Linked DNA regions of Homo sapiens: region 1 is linked to region 2. The links are contacts of gene promoters, found by promoter capture Hi-C in blood cells and fetal thymus (Javierre and others, 2016). All regions are on one chromosome and are shown on one strand. The core of a region is centred on a gene start or on the middle of the fragment in contact, and the rest is flanking DNA. Distances in the headings are between cores, read along the strand shown.

What was found. The method cuts DNA at HindIII sites, captures the fragments that hold promoters and counts their contacts. A CHiCAGO score of 5 or more calls a contact.
Region 1: the fragment with the promoter of ATIC here is called in contact with the fragment with the promoter of RPE in region 2 in 3 of 17 cell types (activated CD4 T cells, naive CD8 T cells and total CD4 T cells); the score reaches 7.2 in activated CD4 T cells.

The regions. Positions count from the first base shown.
Region 1 is chr2:215,309,726-215,314,398 of GRCh38, forward strand. ATIC (5-aminoimidazole-4-carboxamide ribonucleotide formyltransferase/IMP cyclohydrolase) reads left to right here and starts at 2,334. Exons shown (of 16, transcript NM_004044.7): 1 at 2,334-2,436; 2 at 2,773-2,899. The coding sequence starts at 2,418. LOC124907975 (a long non-coding RNA gene) reads right to left here and starts at 2,247. Exons shown (of 2, transcript XR_007088075.1): 1 at 954-2,247. RefSeq lists an enhancer at 2,038-2,688 and silencers at 2,219-2,298, 2,309-2,678. The HindIII fragment of the contact is 8,450 bases long and covers 1-4,673 here.
Region 2 is chr2:210,000,320-210,005,487 of GRCh38, forward strand. RPE (ribulose-5-phosphate-3-epimerase) reads left to right here and starts at 2,319. Exons shown (of 6, transcript NM_199229.3): 1 at 2,319-2,464. The coding sequence starts at 2,343. RefSeq lists enhancers at 2,328-2,377, 2,418-2,587. The HindIII fragment of the contact is 5,690 bases long and covers 1-4,343 here.

The DNA.
Region 1 (4,673 bases), core at 1,084-3,583, 5.3 Mb after region 2:
TGAGTTTCTGCCATCCAAGCAGAAAAGGCTCAATAAAAATGTATTGAATCGAATAAATATTTGTAATTCACATGACAGACAAATGCATAATGCCGAAGCAACTGTTTATTTCCCCTTATCAATAAATGTCAGCATTGTTTTCTCCTTTCCTTGCTTTCGATTTCCTGTAAAAACCTGATGGTGACTGGCCAAGGAAATATCCTTTTTAAATTCAAATTTGGCAAACACACTGAAGACATGCGATAATCTTAATATATTCCTCGTAGGAATGTGAGAAGTGTTCAGAGCAAAGGGCTAACATATTTAGAGGTCAAAAAATTGATTCCAGGCTGGACGCGGTGGCTCACGCCTGCAATCCCAGCCCTTTGGGAGGCCAAGGCAGGTGGATCACCTGAGGTCAGGAGTTCGAGACCAGCGTGGCCAACATGGCGAAACCCCATCTCTACTAAAAATACAAAAATTAGCCAGGCATGGTGGCACGCGCCTGTAGTGCCAGATACTCGGGAGGCTGAGGCAGGAGAATCGCTTGAACCTGGGAGGCAGAGGTTGCAGTGAGCCGAGATCGCGCTACTGCACTCCAGTGTGGGTGACAGAGCGAGAGTGTGGGTGACAGAGCGAGACTCTGTCTCAAAAAAAAAAAAAAAAATTGATTCTAGTCAATAGGTATTTATTTTGGGGAGTAAAGAGATGGGAAGAATTAGAGAAAGGAAGAGGAAAAACAAAAATAAATAGCATGCAGATAATGAGAAAATAGACTCATTTTTACAGCTGTGAGCTCAGACTAAAAGATAAACAATGCTATTACTTTGGAATATAATTCTAATAACACAAAAAAGACTCATAGACCACAATATGTATTTATTTTGTGGCAAAGGTGTCATTTTTAGAAAGAAACAAATGTGTTCAATTTTGCTTTCCCTGTTTTTAATGAATTAAGAAAGGTCTTCTCTTACCTTCTTTTGACTGTCATCATTCCTCTCATCCAGGAATATTTACAGGTTTGCAAGAAGACACCATCTTTAAGTAGTTTTTAGGCACTTTTACAATACTGACTAAATTGTATAAAATAGTATTATAAATTAATATTTAAATTATAATTTTATGACGTGAAAATCAACAACGAATGTCAATTTCACTTCGTTTTGACTGTCATCTGTGGCCTCTGGAGTCCCTCACTTAAATCATTGGTCCTTGGTTTTATTTTTTAAGCCTATTAAAAAGGAGGATGGGGCCGGGCACGGTGGCTCACACCTGTAATCCCAGCACTTTGGGAGGCTGAGGTGGACAGATCATTTGAGGTCAGGAGTTGAAGACCGGCCTGGCCAACACCGTGAAACCCCATCTCTACTAAATATACAAAAAAAAAAAAAAAAAAGTACAACAACAACAAAAAATTAGACGGGTGTGGAGGCAGAGGCAGGAGAATTTCTTGAACCTGGGAGGCAGAGGTTGCAGTGAGCTGAGATGGTGCCACTGCTCTCCAGTCTGGGAGACAGAGCGAGACCCTGTCTCAAAACAAACAAGCAAACAAGCAAGCAAGCAAACAAACAAAAAACAAGTTGGGCATGGTGGCTCACCCCTGTAATCCCAGCACTTTGGGAAGCCGAGGCAGGCGGATCACCTGAGGTCAGGAGTTTGAGACCAGCTTGGCCAACATGGCGAAACCCCATGTCTACTAAAAATACAAAAATTAGCCGGGCATCGTGGCGCCTGCCTATAATTCCAGCTACTCGGGAGGCTGAGGCAGGATAAACTCTTGAACCCGGGATGTGGAGGTTGCAGGTTGCACGTGACATAGCCGAGATCGCGCCATTGCACTCCAGCCTGGGCAACAAAAGCGAAACTCCATCTCAAAAAAAAAAAAAAAAAACAAAAAAAACAAAAAAACCCAGAAAAACAAAAAAACAACAAACAAAAAGGGAGGATGGTAGATAACTGTCCAGATACTTTCCAGCTTTGCCGCTATATGAACTATTCCTTTTGTTTAGTTTTCAGCATGGGAGCTTCTGGCACTTTTACGTACTTTCCAGCTTCTGGGGACCGGCTGCCTAGAATAACAGGCATTTGCCCCAGAGGCCGTGGAGTGGCCTCACTTTGGGGTCGTGGGCAGATCGCTGGCTCCCACGCCTGGACTTCGGGATCGCAGGCAGGATCCCTTCCAGCCCAAGCACTCCGCCCAGGCGCGCCAGGCAGAGCCCCACCCCATCCCGCCGTTCCCTTCAGCCCCGGGGCGCGGATCTTGCATCTGAAACTGAGCAGAGCAGGGCGCCGGGCAGGGCCGGCGGGCCACGTGATAAGCCCGGAAACAGCTCCGCCCCCTCGCTTCCTGAGCCGCCACATCCCGGCAGCCCTCCTACCTGCGCACGTGGTGCCGCCGCTGCTGCCTCCCGCTCGCCCTGAACCCAGTGCCTGCAGCCATGGCTCCCGGCCAGCTCGGTGAGGCCCTAGCGGAGCGGCGCGGTCTGCGTCCTCGCCTGCGGCCCCCCACGCTCCCGCCTTGGCGGCGGCCGGCGGGACCCGGCACTGCAGGGGCGGCGCTGCGGGATTGAAAGCCAGCGTCCCCGCTCCCCGGCCGGGCCGCAGCCTGCGTGGGGCCCGCCTTAGAGCAGCTCGCGGGTGTAAGACCTGGGGAGGCCCGGACCAGGCCTGCGAACGCAGGGTCCAGGTGCTGGCCTTGCGATTCGAGAATCTCCTCCCCCAGACCCTCCCAAGGCCTTGCAGAACACAGTGCAATGTGCTGCGAATCATGAGAAAAAATGTCTTCTCTTTCAGCCTTATTTAGTGTCTCTGACAAAACCGGCCTTGTGGAATTTGCAAGAAACCTGACCGCTCTTGGTTTGAATCTGGTCGCTTCCGGAGGGACTGCAAAAGCTCTCAGGGATGCTGGTCTGGCAGTCAGGTAAGGCATAGCTAGTTCCATCAGAAAGGAGTGTGATCACATTAACCAGGAAGTATTGTATTCCAGGCACCAGCAGCAAAACGCCTTATTTACTCCTCCCAGTAGCGCTGTGAGGTTGGTGTAATACTTCCCCACTTTATGGGGAAAAAAAGTGAGGCTCAGAGAGATTTAGCAACTTTTAAGACCCTGGACGGCTGGGCTAGGTGGCTCACGCATGTAATCCCAGCACTTTGGGAGGCCGAGGTGGGCTGATCACTTACGGTCAAGAGTTCGAGACCAGCCTGGCCAACATGGTGAAACCCGTCTCTACTAAAAATACAAAAATTAGCCGGTATGGTGGCACACGCCTGTAATCCCAGCTACTGGGAAGGCTGAGGCAGGAGAATCGCTTGAACCTAGGAGGCGGAGGTTGTGGTGAGCCGAGATGGCACTACTGCACTCCATCCTGGGTGACAGAGAAAGACCCTGGACAACACACTGGACAGATTTAGCATCTTCTGCACAAGTTTAAACAGTTGAGTAAGGGAAAAGTAGGATTGGAACCCGTGCTGTTCCTGATTTTAGGACACTAGTCTTAGCCCCTTCCTTAAACAGATTAACTTAGGTGGGCCACTTGTTATGCAAGGAAAACTTCAGTTACTTTGACTGGTGATTTAATAAAACTCGACATCATGAAGATTCCAATTTACCTGCCTTCCCTTAGAATCTCTGGTAACCATATGAAGGTGCAAATCATTCATTCCCACGTTCACAAGCCCTTCATTAGCTGACTAGGCCATGGAAAGAAGGGACTTAGAAATGATTAACCAGGATGCCATTGCTGATGTCAAGGAGTGGCATTCTGGGAGGAGAGGGAGGAAGTCTACTGAAAGGTAGAAAAATGAAAAAAACTATAGGATAGCTATTTAATAAACGGCAGTGAGAGTTGGGAGGAACGAGATGACCACCCCTGAAACATATTTTAGAATGAAAGAGATGAAGGATATCTGTCTGCTTTTTGTTGCCATGTGGAAAATTTGCTTCTTGGTTTCTAGATCCATGTAGAGGTAGGTTATTACCTTTTCTTTGTGCAGTTCCCAGCTATGTGAGCAGTACACAGCTTCCCTAAGTTTAACAAGTTCAGATGGTAAGAATGCCTTACTTTATTAACAAATACATAACTGTATATTTTCGGATGTCTTTTTGCGTCTTGTCTCTGTGGTTTTCATGGGAAACCTGTGAGAATCGTGGCAGGCAAGTTGGCTCTTTGCTCATCAGCAACCGAATGAGAATTCAAAGTCCAGACCTGCGTGCTTTCCATTGGGCCAAGTTGGGTCCTCCTATGGTAATGGAACCTTCGTAAAGCAAAATCCTCATCTGTAGTCTCTTTTTTTTCCCCACCAAACTTTGTATTATGGAAACATTTCAGACACAATCAAAAGTAGAAAAGTATAATGATCCCTTGGGTCCTATATCTGTCACCCACTTTAGGTACTTATCAACTGATTAGTCTTGTTTCTGTACCTATACCCACTCCTCACTTATCTTCATTATGGTCATATCTTCTTTAAAAACTGGAAATGTAAATGTGTTTCTCTTCTATGAAAGGATAAGAAGTTCACCATGAGTGATTTATTTAGACCCCAGCACAGTAAAGTTCACTGAATGAAATGTAAACAACTTGGAGCAATTGTTTTTTCTTCAACAAAGGCCACATTCAGTTGCAGTGGTATTTTATTCAGTTGCAGTGGTATTTTACATATATAAACTCTTATAGTCCTTATAACAACTTTTT
Region 2 (5,168 bases), core at 1,069-3,568:
TGCATTCACAATCCCTTAGCTAGACATAAAGATTCTCCAAGTCCCTGCCAGATTAACTAGATACAGAGTGCCCATTGGTGCATTCACAAACCCTGAGCTAGACACAGGGTGCTGATTGGTGTGTTTACAAACCTTGAGCTAGATACAGAGTGCTGATTGGTGTATTTACAATCCCTCAGCTAGACATAAAGATTCTCCAAGTCCCCACCAGACTCAGGAGCCCAGCTGGCTTCACCCAGTGGATCCCATACTGGGGCGGCAGGTGGAGCTACCTGCCAGTCCCCTACTGTGCGCCGGCACTCCTCAGCCCTTGGGCGGTCGATGGGACTGGGTGCTGTGGAGCAGGGGGCGGCGCTCCTCAGGGACGCTGGGCGCGCAGGAGCCCACGGCATGGAGGGGAGGCTCAGGCATGGTGGGCTGCAGGTCCCGAGCCCTGCCCCGTAGAGGGAGGCAGCTAAGGCCTGGCAAGAAATCCAGCACAGCAGCTGCTGGCCCAGGTGCTAAGCCCCTCACTGCCCGGGGCCAGCAGGCCAGCCGGCCCACCCAAGTGCGGGGCCGCAGAGCCCACGCCCACCTCGAACTCGCGCTGGCCCACAAGTGCCTTGCAGTCCCAGTTCCCGCCTGTGCCTCTCCCTGCATACCTCCCCACAAGCTGAGGGAGCCAGCTCCGGCCTTGGCCAGCCCAGACGGACTCCCACAGTGCAGCGGTGGGCTGAAAGGCTCCTCAAGCGCGGCCAGAGTGGGTGCCAAGGCCAAGAAGGCACCGAGAGTGAGCGAGGGCTGCCAGCACGCTGTCACCTCTCAGTCCAAGTTACCACTTCCGTCTTTTACACAGAGTACAAGTGCTCTATTCTGACCCCTTAAGGATTGCTCTTGCTAAGTCCATTTATCCCCGCCAAGTGGTTTTACTTCTGTCTCTTTTCCTGACCCTAGGCACATTTAGCATCAGGATACTCATCCATTTCTGAACTGTGTGTGAACAGCACACAAACCTATCACAATTTGTGAATGAGCATTGGAGAGGTGTAGGGGCCAAGGGAAAACTTTCCCTTCACCCTCCAAAGGTTTGCTGAAAATCACTGACAGAAAGAAGATTAACAGGAGAAAAGGCATAAAAACTTATTTGATTATAGTTTTACCTGACACAGGAGCCTTCAGAATGAAGACCCAAAGGTACAGGGGTGATTACCCATTTTTATACTTAGGTTCAACAAAGTATAGACAGCCATGTAGAAATACGATTGGACAAAATAGGCGATCTAATGCTAATAGACTGACCTGGCCTTGGCCAGTCTAGTTTAGATTCCTGGCCTCTCTGTGCAGCATTCCCTCCTCCTGGATATGGGATAGAACCTTCTCTAGAAGAGGAGTTTTATAACCTACAGTTGAGATGGGTCAAATAATTTATGGCCAGTTTTTACACAGAAAGGTGGAGGAAAGTTAGAGTAATGCTTTTGGGTTTTGTGTCTGGCTTCAGGGAAAGGGGGTTCCGGTTTCAATGACTCTTCTTAGGGAAGATGGGCTCCAGTTTCTATGACCTGCCTCCTAGAATGAGACTGAGAAGAGAGCAGGGCAGGAAGTCAGAGAAACACTGTTGCGTCTGAGGCCTTCACTTTGGGCTATCATTTTCTGAGCCTCAACAGAGGGAAAAACAAAAAAGGTAAGGAGGAACTGCAAAGGCAGAAAAAGAGGGTAATATAATAATAACTACCATTTTGTACTGAGCACCAGGCATCCTGCTGGGCGCATTACCTGGCTTCACTCATTTAATACAACCCTAAAGCTGGGCACTGTCTTTACAGATGAGAAAACCGAAGTTAAGAAGTGATTTGCCAGGTCACCCAGCTAGTATCTGGCAGAGCCAGGGTTCCTCCAGCTCAAAAGAAGAGCTCTAGGAGAAATACGAGGAAGAAAGGTTTTTAATTGTTGTTTTAAAGGGCCAGCATAGGCGCTGGAGAGGAAAGAAAGGCATATGCAAAGGGTGGAGAAACAAAAAGTGATGTTAAGTCAAGAGCCGAGGAGAGGGAACTGCAGGAGAAGCAAAGTGAAAAAAGGTTAAGAAACGCCTTGAGTACTGCGAGGACGTTAAGATCCAAACAGCACAAGAAGGAAGGTCAAAATCAGGTGTACGAGGCCCGTGTGCCCCGCCCCGCCCCAGGCGGACGGCTGACAGCGCCCCACCCCAGGAGGAGGCGGGACTTCCTCACCGCAGAGTGGCTGCTTCCGGTAGAATCCGGAAGCCTGTACGGAGAAGGGGCGGGGCCAAAACTGCGCGCCCAATCGGGGTGACGCTCTAGCCTTGCCGGGGACTCGTGGGTAACTTGCTTTTGGGAGCCAGCGGTATGGCGTCGGGCTGCAAGATTGGCCCGTCCATCCTCAACAGCGACCTGGCCAATTTAGGGGCCGAGTGCCTCCGGATGCTAGACTCTGGGGCCGATTATCTGCACCTGGACGTAATGGACGGGTAACTCCTCCGGGCTCCGGTCGGGCTTGCCGCGCGGCGGGGCGGATCAGTGCACCTTTATTGACTGCTTGTTGGATGTACCGCGTCCCTGTACCACCGAGCGCCTCACTCTGAACGCGATGCTAGAAGGGGTGTGGGGTAGGAGCCCTGGAGGCTCTAGCAGGAGCAGAACCGACGCGGTATCCTGGGTTGCGGCCGGGTCCCAAACCTCAGTTCCTCCCCTCCCCCCACGTAACGTGTGGTCTTCCATCACTTAGGACCCGGAAGCGACCTAAATCTTTAGGACATTTCTTCACTTTCAGCTAGAGAAACTGAGGCCCAAGGGGAGAAGCATGACTTGCCCAAGCTCATATAGCTAGTTAGTGGCAAAGCTGGGGAAACAGACTTCTCTAACGATTTAAGTTGGCACCTGCGGTTAGGTTCCCGAGTTCTGCCACTTGCTGGGTTACCTTGGACAAGCCACTAACCTCATTGAGCTTCAGTTTCATAATTTGAAAAATGGAACTACTAACAGAACCTACCGCTTAGGCATCTTGGAAGATGAAATGAGCGAGTACATGAGAAGTTTACAGTGCCTGGCGTATATTAAGTTCTCTATAATTGTTAATTACATCATTATTACAATTCTGATTTTCCTGTCTATTTTCTCTTCAGGCACCCTGCTCTTCAGGGAGGTCAGTTTTTTGTAAGTAATTTTTAAGCACCGTAGTTACAGCACATAATATTGTTTGGAGTCAGGATATTAGTTTCTGAAGTTGGTTACAGAATGAGGAAACAACCCCAGAGAAAGCAGTAAGACTCCCTCAAGATTACAGAAGATTGTGACAGACTTGCAACTTGGCTCTTCCTAGGTTTGCCAAGTAGTTCTCTGAGCCCCACTGTTAACTGACTATAAAAATCATAAATACCATTATCTTGAGTGGGGATGGAAAAATAAATTTATTTTAAATAGGTAAAAACCCTGTGTTCCCTCATTCAGTTTGCAAATTGGTGTTATTTTCTAAAGGTGATGATTTCCTTTTCTTTTTAATGTTAATCTGGCTTTGAAGAGTTTTATCTTCCATTGCTCTATGTGGTTAAATGTATTGTTTCTCTTTGGCATTTTACCCAGTTACCTTAGGAGTCCACCCAACTGATAATGACAAAACTTTGACCATAGAGTACTAAAAATAATAGGCCAAATGTGTAAAAAGTTTAGTAAATATTACCTCTCACAAAGGTTGGCTTTTAATTGGCCATTATATGTAATTATACTTATATACTTTATTTTTGACATCTTTGCTTGAAAGCCCTAAACTGTCACAGGTAATAATACCCTGAGTGTCTACCTCAAAGGTAAGTAGCTACATTTTTGTGCCTGAGAAAATACCTAGAGGGTCACAGGATGGAACAGCTATGTGTATATTTGTGAGTCTATTTGAGCAATTTGGTTTTAATTAAACTATGTTTGAGTAAGTTAATGGTTGGGGAAAGTAATTGTTTCGGTTCACCAGTCAGGATTATTAATGATAACCATAGTAGCAATGTTTATGAGCACTTGACTGTTTCTGTTCTGGAGTTTTTTTGTGAATTAACTCAAACAACCGTTTGAAATTGGTGGTGTTATTACCACCAGCATTTGACAGCGAGGAATTGGGCACAGAGAGGTTAAGTCATCTGCCAGTGGTCTCATAACTAGGAAATGGTGGAGCCAGGGTTGGAAGCAATGCAACAGCTTGTGTTGTCTCAAATGAAATGCTTTCTGTGGTTCCTAGGCTTACAGGGAATGACTAAGACATTGTTTGGCCTCAAAAAAGCAACTAATAATTTGTGTATTTATTTCTGTTAACTGTATACTTATTTTTGTTAACTTATTTCATGTCTCTCCTGCTACCCTATAAGCTTCCTGAAAGCCAAGTTTATCTTCTTTTTGCTCACCTATATATTCTTTGCTGGAAAAGCACCATAAGGTGCTTAGTTATTGTTGGCCGAATGAATGAATAGCTTAATCATAATAGGAGAAGTCTCTCAGAAGTCACTTTTGTCCCCTTGCAGCTCTATGGCAGACTGAGCTCAGTAAGGCAAAGTATTTACCATGGATCAGAGTTTTGGGAACAAAAAAATAAAAAATGAAGTATTTGTTTTTTATTGATTCCTCTTCCCCTTTGCCAGGAGATACTTTGGTTTGGAAAAACTGAATTCTGCATACACAATTTTAAAATTATTTCCCTTTTAATCTTCTCTACTTTCTGAGTTAAGAGCTGTTTCTATTCCCCTTTTGCAAAGGAGGAAACCAGTGTAGGGAGATTCAGCTTCTTCCCTGATGTCTCACCAGATTCAGCAGAGCCTGGCAGAGTTGGTGCCAGTGCCCCTACGTGATGTGCTGTGGTGTCTACTAGGCTAGGGCTATGAAAGTGGGCTGTGGACTCCTTTTTGAAATGTGGCCAGCCACAATGTCCCTTCCCTCCCAGGACTGCCTTCGTGTTTTTTTTTTCCTGGCCCCTTTTAAAAATCTCATCCAACATTACACTTTGGATGTGCTTATTGTTTTCTAGTCTCCTCCCCACTAAGACCTCCAATTTCTCCCCTGATTACAACTGAATTTCTTCATTTAGAAAGTCAGAAACCAGTCTGGGGAATACTGTGGAAGGTGGAGCACTAGCATGACTGGATATGTGAAACAAAGGACAAGTGGATTCTCTGGGGGAAAAAAACCCTAGAAAAC